Linked DNA regions of Homo sapiens: region 2 is linked to region 1. The links are contacts of gene promoters, found by promoter capture Hi-C in blood cells and fetal thymus (Javierre and others, 2016). All regions are on one chromosome and are shown on one strand. Each heading gives the region's core, a stretch centred on a gene start or on the middle of the fragment in contact. The rest is flanking DNA. Distances are from core to core; before and after follow the strand shown. Region 1 holds the start of HELZ (helicase with zinc finger). Region 2 overlaps PITPNC1 (phosphatidylinositol transfer protein cytoplasmic 1).

Evidence for each region. Contacts are between HindIII fragments. The CHiCAGO score rates a contact against its expected background, and 5 or more counts as called.
Region 2: a fragment that was not itself captured here is called in contact with the fragment with the promoter of HELZ in region 1 in 1 of 17 cell types (total B cells); the score reaches 5.2 in total B cells.

Annotation. Positions count from the first base shown.
Region 1 is chr17:67,241,941-67,249,019 of GRCh38, reverse strand. It overlaps HELZ (helicase with zinc finger), which reads left to right and starts at 3,824. Exons shown (of 33, transcript NM_014877.4): 1 at 3,824-3,872; 2 at 5,181-5,236. It overlaps HELZ-AS1 (HELZ antisense RNA 1), which reads right to left and starts at 4,244. Exons shown (of 4, transcript NR_136398.1): 1 at 3,812-4,244. RefSeq lists silencers at 2,807-3,006, 3,017-3,106, 3,657-4,146, 4,247-4,296 and enhancers at 2,626-3,612, 3,613-4,600. The HindIII fragment of the contact is 7,952 bases long and covers 1,391-7,079 here.
Region 2 is chr17:67,695,047-67,702,223 of GRCh38, reverse strand. PITPNC1 (phosphatidylinositol transfer protein cytoplasmic 1) reads right to left here. Exons shown (of 9, transcript NM_012417.4): 9 at 4,968-7,177. It overlaps LOC101928045 (a long non-coding RNA gene), which reads left to right. Exons shown (of 4, transcript NR_188294.1): 2 at 2,423-2,512. Among named protein-coding and RNA genes, the nearest start is that of NOL11, 19 kb to the left of the region's middle. The HindIII fragment of the contact is 854 bases long and covers 5,470-6,323 here.

The DNA of each region.
Region 1 (7,079 bases), core at 2,575-5,074:
GTTAACATGGTGAAACCCTGTCTCTACTAAAAATACAAAAATTACCTGGGCGTGGTGGTGTGTGCCTGTGGTGCCAGCATTCGGGAGGCTGAGGCAGGAGAATCGCTTGAACCCAGGAGGTGGAGGTTGCAGTGAGCCAAGATCGCGCCACTGCACTCCGGCCTGGGTGACAGAGAAAGACACTGTTTCAAAAAAAAAAAAAAAAAAGAAAAGAAAAGAAGCCACGGCCAGTGGGAGCAGAGGAGAAAGAAAAAATGTGGGAAGGAAGAGGGATGTGATGTCGGGGGGATCAGTTAGTTAGGGCTGTGTGTGTTCATGAGATCAGAATCAGAATTGAGCTAAATCAGTGGTGGCCAAGGGACCTGTTTTCCCTCAACACTGTTCCTTTCTGCCTGCCTCTAGCTGTGTGTGGTCAGTGGTCTGAAGAGATGCGAGGCAGGGCCCTCAGCATCTCACTTCACACTTTAGCACTCCTTTTCATCAACACGCCCATCCCTGAGAGAAGTTTGGTCATGTACTCGACTAATACTTGGTGAGCGTCTATGTATGTGCCAGGCCCTGGTCTAGTCACTGAGGCAAATAAGCCAGACAGAGCCTGTGCCCAGAGGGAGCATATGATCAAATGGGGGCGGGGCAGATAAGAAACAACTAACAACAGGCAAACAAGAGAACTTTTTTTTTGAGATGGAATTCTCACTCTGTCACCCAGGCTGGAGGGCAGTGGCACGATCTTGGCTCACTGCAACCTTGGCCCCCCAGGTTCAAGCAATTCTCCTGCCTCAGCCTCCCGAGTAGCTGGGATTACAGGCGCGCTGTAATTTTTGTACCTTTAGTAGAGACAGGGTTTCACCATCTTGGCCAGGCTGGTCTTGAACTCCTGACCTTGTGATCCACCCACCTTGGCCTCCCAAAGTGCTGGGATTACAGGCATGAGCCACAGCGTCCGACCTAAACAAGAGAACTTCTAACACAGGTCAAGTGTTCAGAGTGACTTGGTCTGGGTAGGGGGATCACAAAAGTCCTCTTTGAGGGGACCTAAATATGATGAAAAGATGATGGGTCGGGCGTGGTGGCTCACGCCTGTAATCCCAGCACTTTGGGAGGCCAAGGCGCATGGATCACGAGGTCAGTAGTTCAAGATCACCCTGGCCAAGATGGTGAAACCCTGTCTCTACTAAAAATACAAAAATGAGCCGGGCGCGGTGGCGGACGCCTGTAATCCCAGCTACTCAGGAGGTTGAGGCAGAGAACAGCTTGAACCTAGAAGGCGGAGGTTGCAGTGAATTGAGATCGCGCTACTGCACTCTAGCCTGGTCGACAGAACAAGACTCTGTCAAAGAAAAGATAATCAGAAGATCTGGGGGAATAGGGTTCTCACTGGAAGGAAGCTTGGGGCGCTGCAGGGAAAGAGAGAAGGCCAGCCTGGACCACTGCTGGTGAGGGAAGGTGGGACCACCTCACACAGGAGCTTGTAGGCCAGGGTTGGGAATCTGGGTTTTATTCCAAGGTTTCAGCAGAGAAGTCTCGATCTGATTTACATTCATAAAATATCACAGGGTTGGTCAGGTGGAGGATGCATTGTAGGTATCCAGGAGGGGCAGGGAGAAGAGTCGGCAGGCCGTCCCAGCTCAGGCAACAGGCGGTGTATTTGACAAGGTTGGGCTTGGATGCACACACTGGAGGCAGTGAATGGGTTGGGCAGTCACACAAACTGAACACTTATTTGGGTCAATGCCTATACAAGGCAAAGAAAGGCTGCTTATCAAAGAAACGTGTTTGGGAGACACAGTCCTTGCCCTCAACTTATTTCCTGTTTACTTATATTAGGTGGGTGCAAAAGTCACTGCGGCTTTTGTCATTACTTTTGCATAAACTCAGACCACATACCTAAAGGTGCCATGCAAACAAAACCACCATTAAGCCAGTGCATACCAGTGGCTAAATAAGTGCAAAAGAGGAATTGGAAAAGAAGCACCTGGGGTACCCTGGAAAGAGACATTGGAGCCTTCTTCAGACGGGCCAAGCATTCCCTTTTCCAGCAGGAGGGGCGCTGCCTCCCCCCAGCCTAGCCCATGCCCTTGGTGGCTACCTTGCTGGGCCGTCTAAGAACCTGGCTCCAGGCTCCAGTTTCTCCACTTATTCCGAGGTGAGAAGCAGGTGACTCAGGGGAGGTTGCTCCCCAGCACGCTGCGTTCTTGGCTGGGAATGACTCACTACCTCGTTCCCTCCTTCACGAGTGACCCGGGGCCAATCCCTTAATGTGTCTACACCTTCTCATCAGACCGGGACAATTGCCTGGTGGAGTTTTTGGCTCCCCAGGGGCAGGGCTCCTGTCTGCCACCGTTCACGTTCCTAGTGAGGCTGTTGATAGGGTCTGGAGGAGCGTAAAATCCTCGGGTAGATCCAAGGCCCCAGGCCCTCCCCGTGCACCGAAAGAGGGTTTTAATGCCAGTGCTTCTGCGGTCTTCTAAAGGTAGAGCCGTTCAACAGCATTTTGTACCGAATACAATTCGCAAGCATTCCTGTCTTGGAGAATTTTCTTTTGGGTATCTCCTTGTTGTAAAAACTTGCTTGGAAAAAAAAAAAAGCAACTGGAGCAGGCCTCCAAAGACAGCAAAGCAGGGACCAGAGGCTCTGCGGAGAGCGCGGGAGGAGGCTGACCAAGGGGCCTCCGTTGCTGGGGGGACCTGGGCGGCTGGACGCCGGGGTCAGTACGCTGCTCGCCCCGCGCAGCCGAAAGCGGGCGTGGTGTCGCGGGGAGAGGATGCCCGGCAGCAGTGTGGCCGGCGGGCTGGGGGTACTCGCCCGGGTCAGAGACCTCAGCCCGCGCCAAGGCGCCCCACACTTTCCAGCGCAGCGGGTCGCAGCCCGGAGACGCCGGGCGTCCCCACCTCCAGCCTCCCGAGCTGCAGCGGCGCCCGCGGTTCTCCCCCGACCCGCCAGGTGGACCCGGACTGGCGCACCCTGCTTTCCGCCCGGGACCCTCCCCCGAGCCCTGGCTGCCTCCGCGCCCCGCCCCGCCCGGAGCCCGCAGCCGGCGCCCCGGATTACCTGCCCCGGAGTCACAGTCCGCAGCCCGGACGCTCCCAGGGTGGCTCCGCGGAGCCTGGAGCCACATTCCTAGGGGAGGGGTCCCCACCTAGAGGGTCGCGGATCACGTTACCCGCCCGGAGGAGGAGACCGCGGGACACAGAGTAAACAAGGGGTAAAAAGTTGCATTTGGCTCAATTTTTTTTTTTAAATCGTGCTTCGACGCTGGTGGACTCGGGGACACGGCGTCCTCCCAGTTCCCGGAGCCCAACGGCCCCGGGGCGGTTTCCCAGGGCAGAGGCACCTCTCCGGGCGGCGGGTGCGGAGCTGGTCTGCGCGGCCTCTGAAGGCGACCCCGGCCGCTCGCGGGCTTCCTGGAAGCGCGGCCGCAGGAGCAGAAACGCTCACATCCACGCGCACAAATAAATCCGCGAGCAGCTCCGCGCCGCGCCGCGGGCGGCAAGGAAACCTCGGGTTGATTCAATGCAGACGCGGGGCGTCTGCCCGGGCAGGAACGCGGCGAGGCGAGAGGACCGGGCGTGGGGGCAGGGAGGCCGGGGCAGGAGAAAGGGAGAAAACCCCAAAGCCACGTTTTAAAAATGCGGGTGAATTTTCAATGCCGTCAGCCCGGGGGAGGGGAAGGGGCCAGCTGCGGGCGCCGGGGTCGGCAGTCCACCCGGGGCAACTTTCCGGGCGGGAGGCGCGGCCGGAGGGGGCGGCGCCGGCGGCGGGAGGCGGGAGTCGGGGGCCGGGGGGAGTCACTTTAAAGGCTCTTTCTTACCCATAATGCTTTGTGGGGACGTTGACAAGTGGATCCAAGATGGCGTAGAAAGTAATGACAGGTAAGTCCTGACTTCCCCCTTCTCTGCTCCTGGGGCCGCTCCGCGAGCTCCCGGAGCTCTCCGGGGAGGGGACCCGACTCCCCTCCGGTGTCCCGGACCCCGGGCGCGGCGGCCCCGGGGCAGGCTGGGGGCCTGGGCGGCCCGCGGCTGGGCCTGGGAAGCGCGGCTCTTCGAGGCGAGGCCCGGACGCTGGGGCTGTTTACAGCTTCTTCCCCTACTTAGTCCCCTTCCCCTCCGCTGGGGCCCGCAGCGTCCTGGGCCCTGGCAGGAGAGGGGGCCTTGCACGCCTGGCCCGGGAGCCTGCGGGAGGTTTCTCCGGCCCAGAGCACTCTGGGAGGGGGACTCGAGCCTCCCGGCACGTTCCCCTCCTCCGGGTCGCGGCTGGGGGTGGGGAGCGTGCGGGCCTCCCACGCCCCGCTCGATGCCCCCCCTCAGGCCTCGGACTTCCACCGGGTGGGGTGGGGGCTGGAGCGGGGGCGTGGGGAAAAGTGGGTCAGGCGTGCGCCCCCTCCCTCCCCCGCGGAGGGCTCTCGGCCCGAGATTCACTTTCTTCCCCCCTTTCCCCGCCCCCTCCTCGGAAATGCTCTTTGGCCCACAAGCACATCAACAAAAATAAAGATAGGCTCTCTTTTCCTGGAGATTCCTTGAGAGTACTCCAGTACCCTTTTCAAGGGCTCACAGACTGCAGTCTTACCTAGGGAACTTCGATTCCTCTCCCCTAAATTATTGGAGCCTTCTGCACCCTCGCCTTTGCTGAGAAATCTTCAGACAGGGCTGGAAGCCAGGGTCCTCTGATTGTTCTTGGATCGGGATCCTCAGGTTTTGTTTGCAGTTCAAAAATTGTCATTCCTTCTCCCTCACAACTTAACACTTCTCAGGCAAATCATTAATATAATAAAAAGTGTAACTTCAGAGACAGTGGATTCCTGGAGCGGGGGAAGGAGGGAGGAGTTGTCTGTCTTGCCTAGTTTGTTCTTAATTTTGCTCTCTCTTAAACTCATATTAATGAAATTTCCTCTCCTTCATTTCTTTATGTTTTTGAAAGTAAGGTCAGTCTGTGTTGAAAAAGATGATTTTATTATGTTTTTGAGTTTTAAGAGCATTGTATAATCTATTCTTTTACCTTACTGAAAGGAAATGTTTTAAGGTCAAAAACCAGACTCATTTGCAAAGCTGCACACTGTACCATTTTTGTAACTTTTTCCATTTTAAATGTAGATGCCCTTTCACTTCAGGCTGATAAAATGTTTGCTACTGATAATGTCTGTTACTGGTGTTGTATGGAAACATCTTTTCTATTTGCCTCAGGATTTGGATGAAGTAATGGATCACTAATGAACTACAGTGCTGGTGAGATGTGTAAGGTGAGACTGCAGTTAAAAATGATTTCCTTTTTTTCCTTCTTTATTTTAATCAACTGGTAAGAGTAAGGCTGAAACTGAGTAATTTGATGGGGCCATCTTTGTTTTCCAAATGTATCACTCAGTCAGTGGGTCTATGGGCAGGGCTAGATTTAGAAAGGAAAAATATGTTGAATGTACCAATCTTTTCAGTTGCTCCAACATACTCAAACATAGTGGTACTTAACTAAGAGCCAAATGTTACTTGCAGCTATTCTTGATCAGTATCTTCACCAGGGATAATTATAGTTTGCCTATTCAAATTTTCTTGCGTAACTTTACTTGGATGTCTTAATTTTATTTGTGTTTTGGTGTCTATCACCTACTGTACGTTTAGTCCCGGTGATTATGTATATGGATTTTGTGTGTACCTGGTTTGTGGGACTCGTAAAGTATACCCTTTCCGTTAGAAAGAATTAGGCAGGTCAATCACTCCTGCTTTTATTTTCTGAAAAATGGAGTAGTACTTTTCTCTTTAATAATTATTTTGAAATAAAGATGATAGTGTTGAGATCTGTTTAGCTTATTAGGAAATAGACTAGTTTGTCATTATGTCCTGATCACACACGGTGTGTGAATTTATTCAAAGTGCTTTATTTAATCTAATTTGTAATGCTTTGGATTTAAAGGATATTATTGATACAGTGTTAGTGAATAGTTTTCTGTGCTATAGAGAGGAAGAGAAGTTTGCTACTTTTACATTTTTCACGAGTTTTCTCAACTTAAAATGTTTTACTAAGTTTTTTTTTAGAAAAATAATAAGTAATTGTGGTCGATTGGTTACTGTAGTTTTTTTTTTGTTGTTTCTCCACACATCTGGGCCTCTGGATTTTGAAATCCTCTCACAAATTTTTCGTGTCTATCACAACATCTGTTTAAGAAGAATAAGCTATCCTTTTTTTTTTTTCTAGATTGAGGCATGTAATTGACATTTTGCCTTAAAAAAATAAAAACTTAGGAAAGGAAGGTGGACATAAACCAAGATTCTTTTGTAAGTGCACATACTGCATTTTCTTGTGTTTGAAACTCAGCAGTGCTTATGTTTATTTCATATAATTTTTATTTTTGGCAGAGCAAATATGGATTTTTAAATTTATTTTTATTTTGCAGATGGAGGCATATTCCTGCCTTAGACCTCCCAATTTGAACTTTATATATGTGTGTATATATACATATATGTGTGTATATATACATATATGTGTGTATATATACATATATGTGTGTATATATACATATATGTGTGTATAGATATGTGTGTATATATGTATATATGTGTATATATGTGTGTATCTATGTATATAGATAGATAGATTTTTTTTCTTTTTTTTTTTTTTTGAGACAGAGTTTCACTCTTGTTGCCCAGGCTGGAGTGCAATGACGCGATCTCAGCTCACTGCAACCTCTACCTTCCAGGTTCAAGCAATTCTCCTGCCTCAGCTTCCCGAGTAGGGATTACAGGCTTACGCCACCACACCCGGCTAATTTTGTATTTTTAGTAGAGAGAGGGTTTCACCATGTTGGTCAGGCTGGTCTCGAGCTCCTGACCTCAGGTGATCTGCCCGCCTTGGCCTCCCAAAGTGCTGGGATTACAAGCGTGAGCCACCATGCCTGGCCTTATCTTTTTTCTTGAAGCCTACAGATAATTTTGTGGAAAGGAGCCAGTGGTCTGCTTTTTGACTGTGGAGATGTTTGTTTGTAGTCTAAAATGGAATACTTAGAAGTAGGTAATCTTGTGTGGCTAGTGTTGTTTGACCTGAATTGTGTCAAGACATTTTCCACAGTTCTCACACATGTAGACTCTGTGAAG
Region 2 (7,177 bases), core at 4,647-7,146, 450 kb before region 1:
CTAACACGGTGAATCCCTGTCTCTAATAAAAAATACAAAAATTAGCTGGGCGTGGTGGCAGGCACCTGTAATCCCAGCTACTTAGAGGCTGAGGCAGGAGAATCACTTGAACTCGGGAGTTGGAGGTTACTATGTGCTGAGATCATGTCACTGTACTCCAGCCAGGGATACAGAGCGAGAATCCATCTCAAAAAAAAAAAAAAAAAAAAAGTAAACACTGCAGTCAGATTCCAAACTAACTTGAGTGTAAATTTTATACCTGGTCCTCGTTATGTATGAGAAATGAGCATAGTACTCTCCTGGTGGAGAATTCTCTATTCCTCAGGAATGGCTTGCGCGTGGCTGAAAAGGGTGCTATGTACCAACTGTTTCTTCTCTTTTTTGGAGCACATGTGTGATCTGTCATCACGTTGCTTCCCGAGAAGTTAAATCAAAGACTTAGGAGGGACTCTGCTTTGTCCTTACCAAGGTTCTGCTAGAATTTGGGAATCACTGATTCTAAAATAACAGTAAGAGAGCTGGAGTTTTTTTTTCTTTTCTTTTTTCTTTCTTTCTTTTTTTTTTTTTAACTGATTCCTTCTTGGTAAAAAAAAAAAAAAAAGCAAAAACCCAAAAACTTGTTGGCACGTATATGGTGGTTTTCAGGAAAACCTCAAATAAAAAGATGCATTCAATGTTTGTTATCCCTGAAAGTGTGAAAACAAAATGACTTAGAATTGATGTTTGTTTATTCAATTAAATGCAGTTCCTTATGCTCAAGTTAGGCTTTTGTTTCTGTAGTAGCCAGTCAAATGTTTCTACAGTTTGCTAGCTAGGCTGGAGAAGGCACTGAACATTTAAATAATTCGGAGAGCTTCTTTGTGTCTGGGCTCTCCCTTCATCACATGACTACCCAAAATAAGGATATTTGACCTATTAATACTTTAACAAAAGACTTGTATGGAAATTGGATGCTGGCAATTGCTTAATAAGTTGAGACTGGTGAACTTTTACAATGGCAAATACTTGTTTAAAGAGACACATGTTCTCACTCACATATTGTCAGTGGAATTGTAAATTGGTATAATTTTCTTTGGAGGGGATGTTGGCAGTAAGGACCCAAAAGTCAGGAAAATACTTACATCCTTTGACCCAGTAATTCAATTTCTGGGAATTTATCCAGAACAAATAATTAAAAAGAAGACATAAGCTATGTTGCAAAGATGTTCCTAATGGCACTGTATATAATAACAAAATCTGGAACATAACCTAAATGCTAAATAATAAAGGAATGTTTAAGTAAGTTACTGATTTTCAACCCAATGGAATATTATATAGCTATGAAAAATGATAAACATGCTATGTACCAAATGTAAAGGTGTTTATAAAACAATTCAATATCCTCAAAGCATTTTGTAGAAAGACAGGCATGTACGGATTATGCTCTACAGAAAAATTCTAAAGTACTTAAGGTGAAAAGTCACATTCTTGGATTTATATAATAAGATTTTTAGCAAAATGCAAAGAAATACAGTTAACTGTAAGATGACAGTGGGAAAATTTAAACTTGTAGAATCTTTGTAAATTTTCAAGTTGTATTCTGAGAAAAGACAAAATATGCATTCAGTACTGTTGACTGACTGCACAGAGAAAGCAGCAAGCTGTCTCTGAACACTCTGAATATAATCACTGGTATGCTTAAGAGCACAAAATGATTCTCAAGGGTTGCTAATGAGCTGTAAACTGCCAGCATCTTGCCTGTGGAATCTCTTGGGAGCAAGAAAGTTATTTTGGAATGATTTTTTTTTAAAAAATCACAGAAGTCCAGATTTGGCCACCCTCAAATACGCTCCAGGGACAAAGCGGTCAAAACTCCCTTCTACAAAAGCTAAAGGAGGGGAAATGATGGCCCTGTCTTTTGTGTCTGCTTACAGTGCGGAAAGTTGGTACTTACAGTTAAACATAATTAGCCCTTAAATCCCAGGTGCTTAATTCAGCCCGTTAATGTTGCTTCACTGAATGGCTGATTCAGTAGGTTTCTGAGGCTGTGTCGTTTCTTTGGCCACAGGCTAGCTCCATTCCTCAGTGCTGGGAACAGAGCAAAAGCATTAAGGCAAAGTCCCAGCCTGCTTCCAACTTTCCCAGGAGCAGGGAAGCACTTGAAGATTTGGATTTGAGTGGGATATCCTACTAGGTTGCATACTATGGAAAAAGGAGGATTTATGGGAGGATGAAATGTCAGGGGGCAGGTACATTAGGCAGAGAAAGTCAGTCTGTCAGCTGGAAAACAGGGTTTGCCTGGATCAACCGCACTGAGTTAAACACACACACAACTGTATGTGAACATGCACAAAGATTGTTGTTCCAAAGGCGTCAAAGCTTCAGGACTGAGGGTGACATTTTTGTTCTTCTCTTTTTTTTTTTTTAATTTTTTTTTTTTAAGACATGGGATTTCACCATGTTGCCCAGGCTGGTCTCAAACTTCTGGACTCAAGAGAACCTGTCTCAGCTTCCCAAAGCGTTGGTATTACAGGTATGTGAGCCACTGAACCCGGCTGAGGGTGATATTTTCATACAGGGATATTTCACGACAGGGTTGGAGAATGGTCGCATGATTTTCCTGAACTTGAGAGGCCAAGATGCAGCTGGAGGTCAGAGGCAAGAAACCCCAAGTAGAATGTAATGAAGGAAACAAGGACTTTTTTTTTTTTTTTTTTTTGAGGCAGAGTCTTGCTTTGTCACCCAGGCTGGAATGCAGTGGTGCGATCTCTGCTCACCGCAACCTTTGCCTCCCAGGTTCAAGTGATTCTCCTGCCTCTCAGCCCCCCGAGTAGCTGGGACTACCAGTGCCGCGTCACCATGCCTGGCTAATTTTTTGTATTTTAGTAGAGACAGGGTTTTACCATGTTGGCCAGGATGATCTTGATCTCCTGACCTCGTGATCTGCCTGCCTCGGCCTCCCAAAGTGCTGGGATTACAGGCGTGAGCCACCGCGCCCGGCCGAAACAAGGACATTTTAGAAAAGAATGTGGGCGTTTGGAAATCTAAAGAGTAATGCTCAAATGAGATAATGCCTTGATGAAAAGCTGTAGTAGGAAGCTGGGGGTGATACAAACATATATATATATATATTTAACATTAGGCATCCAAATGTTTAACCACCCATATAGTTTGGTCCCGGGAATAAACACCCAGCCTGGCTGTACCCAAGTTCACTGGCTGAAAGTCAGCCAACAACAATGTGTGGAAAGTTTGTGTGTTTTGAAAAAAGAAGTAAAAGGCAGGTTGGGGGTGGTAATGGTGAAGTTGGAGCTACAAAAGCAAGCATGTTTTTGTTCATTGGAACGATGCAATATGATTTTGGGAAAATTTTCAGTGTAGAAAGCCGACTGATGGTGTGCTATTCTATGAAGCTGTGTGCCTGATCCAGTCACAGATTAGAACATAGGATGTGGATGATTCAAGAGGAGAGAACAGAGTGAGAGGTATATGCTGTTTTAGCAGGAGACTAACGAGCAGGGGGCTAGAAAGTAATTCTGGCTGGGTGCGGTGGCTCACACCTATAATTATCCAGCACTTCGGGAGGCTGAGGCGAGATGATCACTTGAGTCCGGGAGTTCAAGACCAGCCTGGGTAACATAGTTTAACCAGTCTCTAGAAAAAATAAAAAATTAGCTTGGTGTGGTGGTGTGTACCTGTAGTCCCAGCTACTCTGGAGGCTGAGGCAGGAGGATCACTTGAGTCCAGGAGGTCGAGGCTGCAGTGAGCTGTGATCACACCACTGCGCTCCAGCCTGGGTAACAGAGTGAGACTCGAAAAAAAACCCCAAAGAAATAAAAGTTTCTGTCCTCAGACTACCCATCTGCAGAGAACCCTTTTGTGTACAGGAGCTACCTGAGATGGAGAAACCACATCAGAGTGATTTCAGCTCACCTTAAAAACTGGCCCAACCTTCAGTGGAGAGAATCTAGGAACACCACTGGGATGGTGTTCCTACAGATTCCCTCAGGGTGGATAGCTTCACATTCGAGGCGAGGGAACCAAGCACCTGGTGGACGGATGCATGAGTATCCCACTGGGTTACAGATTCACCTCGGGTTTTTTTTTTTTTGAGACGGAGTCTCGCTCTGTCACTGGAGTGCAGTGATGTGACCTCGGCTCACTGCAAGCTCCGCCTCCCGGGTTCACGCCATTCTCCTGCCTCAGCCTCCCGAGTAGCTAGGACTACAGGCGACCGCCACCGCGCCCGGCTAATTTTTTGTACTTTTAGTAGAGACGGGGTTTCACCGTGTTAGCCAGGATGGTCTCGATCTCCTGACCTCGTGATCTGCCCGCCTCGGCTTCCCAAAGTGCTGAGATTACAGGTGTGAGCCACTGCGCCCGGCCTCAGCCAGGGTTTTTTTGTTTTGTTTTGTCTTTTTGAGACAGGCTCTTGCTCTTTCACACCCAGAGTGGACAGCAGTGGCGTGATCTTAGCTCACTGAAGCCTCCACCTCCAGGGTTCAAGTGATTCTCATTCCTCAGCCTCCTGAGTAGCTGCGACTACAGGCGTGTGCCACCACGGCTGGGAAATTTTTGTATTTTCAGTAGAGATGGTGTTTCGCCATGTTGGCCTGGCTGGCCACCTTGTGTAATTTTTGGCTGGATAATTAGTGCAGACACTCAGACTTTTCCTACCAAGGGTCCTGAAGGTGCCATATGCCTACTAGCAGGCAAGGCCACACAATGACACAGAAGGATGGCATCTGTGAGGATCAACTTTTGTTTGCTTTGCTTATAGTCTGTAATGCTGTGTATTCCAACACCTGGTCCTTCAGCAGTGGCAGTGGTATGGGGATGGGTAAAAAAATCCATAGAGGAAAAGAAGCAAGCCCATCAACCCACAGGTGAACAATTACTAACATTCCCTCGAGAATAGCTAAAGAGGAGAGAGAGAGAGAGAGAGAGAGGGCGAGCGAGAGAGAGAGAGAGGAAGCTACGCTTGCAAAGAAGATTGCTTTGTATTTTATTTACAACAGAATGTAAGAAAAAGTAAGTTATTAACAATAATAAATAACTAGGAAGAAAAACACAGAACAGCCACAAAATGACACAGAAGGATGGCATATGTAAGGATCAACTTTTGTTTGCTTTGCTTATAGTCTGTAATGCTGTGTATTCCAACACCTGGTCCTTCAGCAGTGGCAGTGGTATGTGGATTAATTTAACCAATCAAGATCCCAGCTTGAATGTAAACACTACAAATTACACTTGAGCTACATGTGAGTGGTACAGGTACAACACCAACTCAGAGACCCTCTCCTGGGTGATATATAGAAACTGAAGGGAGACTTGCAATTTGACAGACATGCTTTCAATTTAAAGCAAAAAACATCAAGAGGCTTATCCTAAAGTCCTTGTTAATTTAACAACAAAATTACAATTATTAATGGCATCTGAAAATTTCCCAACATATTCACATTCTCTTATTACACTAACTCCTAAAAAGCTTAAACACTTATATTTCAAATGCAAACAGATTGTTTTGAAGGTAGAACACAAAAGAACCCAATGTTTTGCCTCAGCATGCCAACAGTGTGCTATTGTGTACACTTCAGTTTCAGCAAGAATGAATAGTTAAAATAGTTTATTCATAATCAGATTGCAGTCACTGGACAGACTTTTTAAATCTCAAGAACTATGGCTCAGATGACAGATTGTCTCCTAGCCTACTGAGTCAGATGATCAGAAAGGTACTAAAACTATTTGGACAATTCCTCTCTATTGGATTATCTGATTACACATTATATGTAGAGTCAGCTATACACTGGCCCTTCTTAAGAGTAAAATTCCTATCGACGTAAGCCAGCCAATGACCTATTACTTTGTTGTCGCTGAGCCATGAAGAGATGCCAAAGAAAGTAGAATTTAAAAATACACATAAATACATTAGCCCTGAAACTTTTGCAGAGAATGATTTATCGAGATGTATCAGAATCTATTCTCTTAGTTCACTGTTTATTACAGTGTCTTGAAAGAAAACCACAGTTACTTTTGCAGGTATTGTGGTAAGTGTCTGCATAATATACCCACAACTGTGCTACTTAGAGATTTATTTTCAGGACCAACAACATGGCTAATAAATACTTCCAAATAAATTAAAATTTTCCTCACACACAGATGCAAAACCGTAACAGAAGCCTTGATAAATCAGTTCACCAACAAACCCATATTGTTTGAGTTACAACGGTGGCAACTAAAAATGTCACGGCCTCCTTCATTGTGTTCCTTTTCCTTTGCTTTGTCTTGCAACAACCCAAAGTGAGAAAATGAAATGATCTTCAGAGGTGATTTCTAACAAAGCTTATGTGTTAAATACACCAAGATCTTCTCATCCCAGGAAAGCACAGCTAAAGCAAGAATGCCGTGCTATGGCCAAGAAAATGCACAGGGGCACTTCACATTTGAAATCTTCCCAGAGTTATGAAATGTACAGTCATTTTGATGGTCTCCACTAACTTCAGAGATGAAGATGGAGTGAACGTATGTGATATTCTATGGATTATTTATTTAAGTTTGGCTACCAGAGACTTAAAACTGATGGTGTCTGATTCACTATACTATATTTATATTTATATATATATATATATATATATATACACAGGTATAATACAATTTTGGTGAACAAAGTTGAAGGTTTCCATATCGCAGACAGAGGCACTGAGTTAAGGATTCTATTTCCCCCCAAACATGCTTAGCAAATTCAAGTTTCTGCTTTTTTTTTCTTCTAATTTCCATCATGCAGCCATTTGGCTTCCATCCTTCTAAGAATTATTAATGTTCTGTATATATACATCCATTGCAGGCTTGTATTCCACAATAACAAAGTCATGTATAGAGAATGTGAAATGATACTTGAAAACCAAGATATATAAAATATTGAAGTCATTTATGCCTTTTGATGACTGGGTTAAATATGCAAAGCAGCTAAAGGAATATTTACACCACCCACCCCCTTTTTAACTCACACAAAGCATATGTAGACAGAAAAACTGAACATACTTTAAGAGCACACGCTTTTTTTTCGGCTAAGAATCACACTATCATCGTAGCTTTGCAACTGATGTCTGTGGTAACATACTGGTTATAAAAGAAATGAAACTCACAAAAGGAAATTAGAACTTAGCTTCCTAAAGCATATAGAATTGTTAACCTTGAC